Regions from separate parts of the Homo sapiens genome. Here region 1 is linked to region 2. Evidence: promoter capture Hi-C in human tissues and cell types (Jung and others, 2019). All regions are on one chromosome and are shown on one strand. The core of a region is centred on a gene start or on the middle of the fragment in contact, and the rest is flanking DNA. Distances in the headings are between cores, read along the strand shown.

Region 1 (3,531 bases), core at 1,031-3,530, 850 kb before region 2:
GGATTCAGATTTGGGGGGTTGGCTGGAGCCCTCTTTGCCCACCAGGCCCCACGATGGGGGTCCCCTGGAGCCTCCAAGTCCTGGGCTGGCAAGCAACAAGCACTGGCTGGGTGGGGGTCTCTGGGCCGAGTCCCGAGGCTGGCTGGGCAGGGGTCTCCGGGCTGAGTCCCAAAGCTGAGGCTGGCTGGGTGGGAGTCTCCAGGCTGAGTCCTAAGGCCGAGGCTGGCTGGGCAGGGGTCTCTGGTCCAAGTCCCGAGGCCGAGGCTGGCTGGGCAGGGGTCTCCGAGCTGAGTCCTGAGGCTGGCTGGGCGGGGGTCTCTGGTCCGAGTCCCGAGGCCGAGGCTGGCTGGGCCGGGGTCTCTGGGCTGAGTCCCGAGGCCGAGGCCGGCTGGGCAGGGGTTTCTGGGCAGAGTCCTGAGGCCGAGGCTGGCTGGGCGGGGGTCTCTGGGCCGAGTCCCAAGGCTGGCTGACCCTGGAGCAGTTCCCTGGTGCCCATGCTCTGGAAGCTGGAGGGTCCGGACAAGTGGCAGCAGAGCCCAGTCTCAGGGTGGACAGCTGCCCCGGGGGCCCCTCCTCCAAGGGGGTTAGATAGAGCCCATCAGGGCCTCTCCTTGGGAAACCCCTTGGGTGAGGGGGCAAGAGTCCATTGGGGTCTCCAGCTCTGAAGCCTCCATCACTCGAGGAAGAGCTCGTGCCTCTCCCTGCACAGGCTCTCAGCCTCCAGACCCCATGGCAGAGCCTTTGCTTCCCCTCTGTGAGGCTGCCTCCTTGCCCATGGAGGGGCAGGTGCAGAAAGGCCAGCGGGGGACCTTGGCCGGAGCATCCCACAGAGATGAGAGACATGTGACGCTCCCTGCTCCGCCCTGCTGTGGCTTTATTCCTTACCTGTAGCGGGGGCAGGTGCGACCCTACCCATGTCAGACGGGAACCCTGGCATGGAGACCCAGGCGCCCTGCTAGGTGGGAGGCTGGGGACACGTGGGCCTCCCAGCATGGTCCCCATTTTCTGTGTCCCTGTCCTGGAGCCCAGCTCTGCCTGTGGCAGCCAGAGACACGGGTTGGGCATGCAGGTGTGACTGAGTGGCTAATTAGGGCCCAGTTGTGGGCCATCTGTATGTGGCAGGGCTGGGTAACTGCAGGCCTCTGGGATCTGTCTCAGGCAGGTCTGTGGTGCAGAGCGAGGTGCCCACCAGGGGCTGGCCTTAGGTTCCATCCCCATGTGCTGCATCGGCCCCTCCCCTCCAAGTAGCTCTGCCCTCCTTTCTTTGAGGCCTGCGGTCCTCCGACTCCCTTGAACTTGCTGGACCCCCAGGTTCTGGTCCAGGGTCTGGGAGGAGGTTAAATGCAGGGAATCCGTCCCCAGGCTGGGCAGGGAAGGACTCCCACCCTTGGTGCCTGCACGTATAAGGGGAGGTGGGGTCAGTCTGGCACCCTGGCTGCTAGGTGGTCTGTGGCCAGCAAACCGTGCCCTGAAGCTTCTAGTTGGGAGGGGCAGAGGCCTTGCCCTGCAAAGCCCCAGGCTGAGGGGCTGGGGTTGGGGTGGGGTTTACCAGGACCTGGTTCCTGTAAGCCGAGGTCTCCTTCCCTGGCTCTTCCAGCCTCAAGCCAGCAGTAGCAGGGCAGCCTGATAGAGTAGGGCACCCCAGGGGTGAGGGGAGACCAGGAAGGCAGACACCCCTGTCTCCTGACAGCCTCGTAACCATGCAGGAGACTCACTGTGACTTGTCCCACACCCTCCCCAGTGTCTCCTCGGTTGGGGCTGGGGGCTTCAGGGATCAGGGAGAGGCTGGGTGCCAGCAGCGTGCCTGGTGGCACCTGGGACAGGGCCTTGCTGGGGGTGGGTGCTGTGGGTGTGCTCGCCAGGCCGAGGCATTGGGAAGGAACGAGGTGGGGAGCTCTCTGGAGAGGCACACGGGTGGGTACCAGCTGGAGGTGTTGCCTGAGCAGCTGGCAAGGCTGGGGCCTTCAGATTAGGCCATAGGTGAGTGGCCTGGAGCGCCTGGCCAAGGAGCAGAGCTGGGCAGGGGCCAGGGGCTGTGCTGGGCCTCTGTCCGGGGCTTTTCTCCGGGGAACGGTTCCGGGGCAGTGGGCTCGAGACTCTGGCCCTGGGGATTGCATACTGGGGCAGATCGGACCATCCAGGAGCGAGTGGGAGGTGGGTGTGCCGGGGCTTCACACCGGTTTCCACTTCTCTGGCCTGTGTTGACACAGGCCACCCTCCCCACCAGGCTGGTCCCGAGCCCCCTCCTGGCCCCCAGGCCTGGAAGACAGCTTCCTTGCTGCCTGGCCAGGCCCCCTTGTGGTTGCCAGGGCCTCGATGCTGGAATGTCAGAGGCCCCCCACTGGCCCCTCAGCCTCCTCCTGCTTTGCACAGGCTGGGCCAGAGCCTGCCACGGAGCCCCAGCGGCTACACACTCCACTCACTCACACCTCTCAGGGCCCCGCACGTTCCCACAGCCCTCAGGGTGTACGTGCTGTAGGTGTGGCTGTGCCCCAGGTATGTGTTCCCCAGGTGTGCTTGTGCCCCAGGTGTGGCTGTGCCCCAGGTGTGCGTGTGCCCCAGGTGTTCGTGTGCCCCAGATGTGGCTAGGTGTCTAGATGTGTTCTAGATGTCTGTGTATTCCAGTGTGGCTGTGTCCCAGGTGTGCGTGTGCCCCAGGTGTGTGCCTCAGGTGTGCGTGTGCCCCAGGTGTGGCTTTGCCTCCAGTGTGTGTGTGCCCCAGATGTATGTGTGCCCCAGGTGTGGCTGTGCCCCAGGTGTGCCTGTGCCCCAGGTGTGGCTGTGCCCCAGGTGTGCCTGTGCCCCAGGTGTGGGTGTGCCCCAGGTGTGGGTGTGCTCCAGGTGGCTGTATTTCCCAGGTACTCAGGGTGAGGTTGGGAAAAAAGCAGGACATTTCTACACTAGGTGGGACAAGCAGGTTTCTGGGGTGCCCCCCTCATGCCAGCCCCTCTGTGGGATCTCCATACCCCTCATCCTCTGAGGCCTGGCGCACGGCGGGGCTCAGAGACTGAAGGAAGGACTGTAGGAGTGGACGATGGTGGGGGTTTGACCTGACGCCGGGCCAGATGCCCTGTGTGGCTGCCTCAGCCTGGAGTAGAGTGTCTGAGCTGGAACAGGGGTCCTAGCCCCACTCTGTGAGGCGAGAAACTGAGGCTTGGAGAGAGGAAGAGATGGGGCTTCCCAGGACCTGGTGGGTGGTATGCAAGGGGAGCTGGCTGGTGCAGCGGGGGCTGTGGTGAGGGCCCTGGGAGGGGCAGGGGGATGCACGCAGACAGAGGCTCTGCCTGCCCGCAGAGTGCCAGCTGATGAAGACGGAGCGGCCCCGGCCCAACACCTTCATCATCCGCTGCCTGCAGTGGACCACTGTCATCGAACGCACCTTCCATGTGGAGACTCCTGAGGAGCGGTACGTGGGCTGTGGCGGCCAGGCCAGGCACTTGGGCAGCCCCAGCGCTTAGGAGGGACACGGGGATGGCGGGGTGCTGGCACCTCTGCCTGTAGCCATCCTCACTCCCCAGTGCTCCCAGGCCC
Region 2 (3,564 bases), core at 109-2,608:
GCGCAGTGGCTCACGCCTGTAATCCCAGCACTTTGGGAGGCTGAGGTGGGCAGATCACCTGAGGTCAGGAGTTCTAGACTAGCCTGGCCAACATGGTGAAACCCTGTCTCTATTAAAAATACAAAAATTAGCCAGGCGTGGTGGCATATGCCTGTAGCCTCAGCTACTCGGGAGGCTGAGGCAGGAGAATCGCTTGAACCTAGGAGGGGGAGATTGCAGTGAGGCGAGATGGCGCCACTCCACTCCAGCCTGGGTAACAAAGTGAGACTCCATCTCGGGGGGTGGGGGGAGAACTTGGAAGCAACCAAGCTCTCCTTCAGTAGGTGAATGGAGATAAACTGTGGTACATCCAGACAGTGGAATATTAATCAGTGCTAAAAGGAAAGAAGCTATCAAACCATGGAAAGGCATGGAGGAACCCCCAAATGCATACTAATACTAAGTGACAGAAACCCATCAAAAAGGCTACACATACTGTGTGATTCCAACTAGATGACAGTATGGAAAAGCAAAATTATGGAGACAGTAAAAAAATCAGTGGTTTCCACGTGGTGTAGGGAAAGGGAGGCAGGAACAGTGGGGCCGAGAAGATCTGTAGGTCAGTGAACTCTGTAATGCGTGACGTTAGGCGTTTGTCCAAACCCACAGAACGTCCAGTACGAGGCGTGAACCCTCCTGTAACGATGGCCTCCGGGTGACGAAGACGCAGCGATGCAGGTTCGCCGACTGTCACAAATACCCACACCTTACGCAGATGCTCACAGGGGAAACTCTGGGAGGGAAGGGGCCTATGGGACCTCTGCCCTCCGCTCCGTTATCCTGAAAACCTGAGTGCCTCAAAAACTAGTCTGTTAAACATTAAGAACTGAAAAAAAAAAAAAAAAAAAAACCTCTAGCTCAGCTTCCTTACAGGCACCGCTCTGGGCCGCGCGTCGGGTTGTGTAGTGACCACTCGCCCTGGACGGTCAGGGGTCCCTGGAGCCCCGCGAGAGGGCACGGGCTCGCGAGAAGGATCTGGATGGCCCGTGCCCTCGTCGCCAGGCCTCGCCCGGCCGCCCTCCAGCCGCCTCCGCCCCGCCCGCGTCCTACCTTTCGAACGCAGCGGCCGGCCGGGCCGGAGCTTGGGCCAGAGCCGGAGCCTGGGCCGCGGGACCAGCGCCGGGGGCCACGTCCTGGCGCTGCACCTCCTCCCTGGCCGCCCCTGCCGGGAAGGCGGGCGGCGCGCCCAGCAGCTCCACATTGGTCACCGTCTTGCCGATGGTGAACCAGTCGTTGATCTGCTCGATGGTGAGCTTCCGCAGCATCCTCAAGGCCCAGGCGTCGGCATCCCCCAACTGCCGGGTCTCCGCGGCGGGAACAGGCGACGGCGGAAGCGCACCCTGGAAGCCCCGCCCCCGCTCGAGGCCTTCCAATCAGAACGCGCCGCGCGCCCTTGTGGGCGGGCTCCGGCCCGGGCGCGTGCTGCCCGCGCTGCCTGGTCCTCGTGCCGCCGGCCCCGCCCCGCCGCGCTAGGCCTGCCGGGAGCCGCCGCCCCGAGCGAGCCCAGGGTGAGCCTTTCTAGGACCTCAGGGGAAGCTTGAGCGCCGCGGCTGGCCCGGGAGTCTGTTTCACGGGAGTTCCGTGGCAACCCCTGTGTGTACAAGAAAATGCCCTCCGGTCACTCCCTGGCCTCTCTATTTAGAGGCTGCTGCCTCGGAGGTTTGTGCGCTTTGAGCGGACCGGGACCCTACATACGTTTCTTGAGCACCTCAGGGTGAGGAGATGGAAGGCAAACCAGAGAAGGGATTTGCGTTCGTGGGTCAGACGTACCAGGACATCCTTGCACCTAATATGGGGGGAGAGGGGCAAGAAGAAGGTCAGGAAGGTCTCGGAGAAAGTAACGCCAGGCAGACCCCTGCAGGATACGGGGGAATGCGCCAGACGGAGGACCACCCAGGGTTATAGGGGAGGGCAGGCGGCCCTGATGGCTGAGGTGAGGATCTGGGAGAAGTTCTTTGCAGCCGGATCATAACTGAATTCATCTTCCTTCCTAAACCGGTGTCTCAGGCGGCGGTGTCAGACTCACAGCTGGACACAAACAGGTGCGGACAGGAGGTCCAGGCGATCACATGGACCAAAGATACAGGCTGAGGTGGTCCCGGCCGAGCTCTAGAAGAGTGAGGGTGGAGAACAGAGCCCTAGCAAACTCCCCAAAAGAAGGAGCCGCGGGAAGAAATCAACAAAGGATGCACGGGAAGGCAGCCACGTGTGCAAGGGAAGGGAGGGTCAGAAGAGAGACATGGCCACCTGCCTGGGGTGTGTCCCCCTCACTGGCCAGGGCAGGATCTATCTGGCCCATGTGGGCTCTCAGGAAAGAGCCATGTGAACAAATACAGAGACGGTATCGAGAGCATGGCTCTAATCAGCAGTGTAAAGCCCAAGCAGTGGCAAATAAGAGGGCGGTTTGAAAACACTGTAGACAGAAATCAGGCAGGTAGGTTGAGCTATTGGTGTCTCAAAAATTGAACCCATAATCATACTAAGCCAGGAGTTCTGGCTCCAAATCCTGGCATAATGAGCTCTAGACCTCATATTAGGACTCTGCCAAATACGACAGGTTCCCAAAAGTGCCTCAACACACTTTGCCAGGAAGAAATAACTTGCTTTTCTTTTTTCTTTTGAGGCAGGGTCTCACTCCTGTCGCTGAGGCTGGAGTGCCGTGCTGCAATCAGGGCTCACTGCAGCCTCAACTTCGGGGGCTCAGGTGATGCTCCCACCACAACCTCCTGCATAGCTGGAACTACAGGCTCACGCCACCACCACACCGGCTAATTTTTTATATTTTTAGTACAGACAGGGGTTTCGCTGTGTTGCCCAGGCCAGTCTCAAGCTCCTGGGCTCAAGCAATCTGTTTGGGAGCCCTTGGCCTCCCAAAGTGTTGAGACTACAAGCATGAACCACCATGCCCAGTCATGTTTTTCAAAAAATAAGAAAAAAGGTAATCATAAAGTAATTGAGACTCATGGTATGTCATTCAGCATTGATTGGAAAATATTGTAACTTCACACTGTATGTGGAGGCTAGGACATAATTCAAAATTTTACAAAATATATTGAAACCACTTGAAGCAACTCCAGAACTCACACTTGTTTTGTTTTGTTTTTTGTTGTTGTTTTGAGACGGAGTCTTGCTCTGTCACCAGGCTGGAGTGCAGTGGCGCGATAGCTCACTGCAACCTCTGCCTCCCAGGTTCAAGCAATTCTCCTGCCTCATCCTCCGGAGTAGCTGGGACTACAAGCATGCACCACCATGGCTGGCTAATTTTTTGTATTTTAGTAGAGACGGGGTTTCACCATGTTGGCTAGGAAGGTCTCAATCTCCTGACCTCATGATCCGCCCGCCTCGGCCTCCCAAAATGCTGGGATCATAGGCGTGAGCCACCGCGCCTGGCCTGTTTTTCTAGGATGTTGCTGTTACCGTGTGCTGTCATCCTTTGTTGATGTCACAATGAATACGATTTTAAGTGGAAGATGCTTTTCAAAAACATTTTCTGGGGGGCATTTTCTATATTCTTTGATCTTTTGG

What was found. Contacts are between HindIII fragments. The study calls those that stand out against the background at their distance.
Region 1: a contact is called between a fragment that was not itself captured here and the fragment with the promoter of TDRD9 in region 2, in 1 of the 25 tissues and cell types used here (lymphoblastoid cells).

What each region holds. Positions count from the first base shown.
Region 1 is chr14:104,776,534-104,780,064 of GRCh38, reverse strand. It overlaps AKT1 (AKT serine/threonine kinase 1), which reads left to right. Exons shown (of 15, transcript NM_001382430.1): 5 at 3,295-3,406. Among named protein-coding and RNA genes, the nearest start is that of AKT1, 17 kb to the left of the region's middle. The HindIII fragment of the contact is 9,824 bases long and covers 1-3,531 here.
Region 2 is chr14:103,926,250-103,929,813 of GRCh38, reverse strand. TDRD9 (tudor domain containing 9) reads right to left here and starts at 1,358. Exons shown (of 36, transcript NM_153046.3): 1 at 1,090-1,358. The coding sequence starts at 1,304. The HindIII fragment of the contact is 10,851 bases long and covers 1-3,564 here.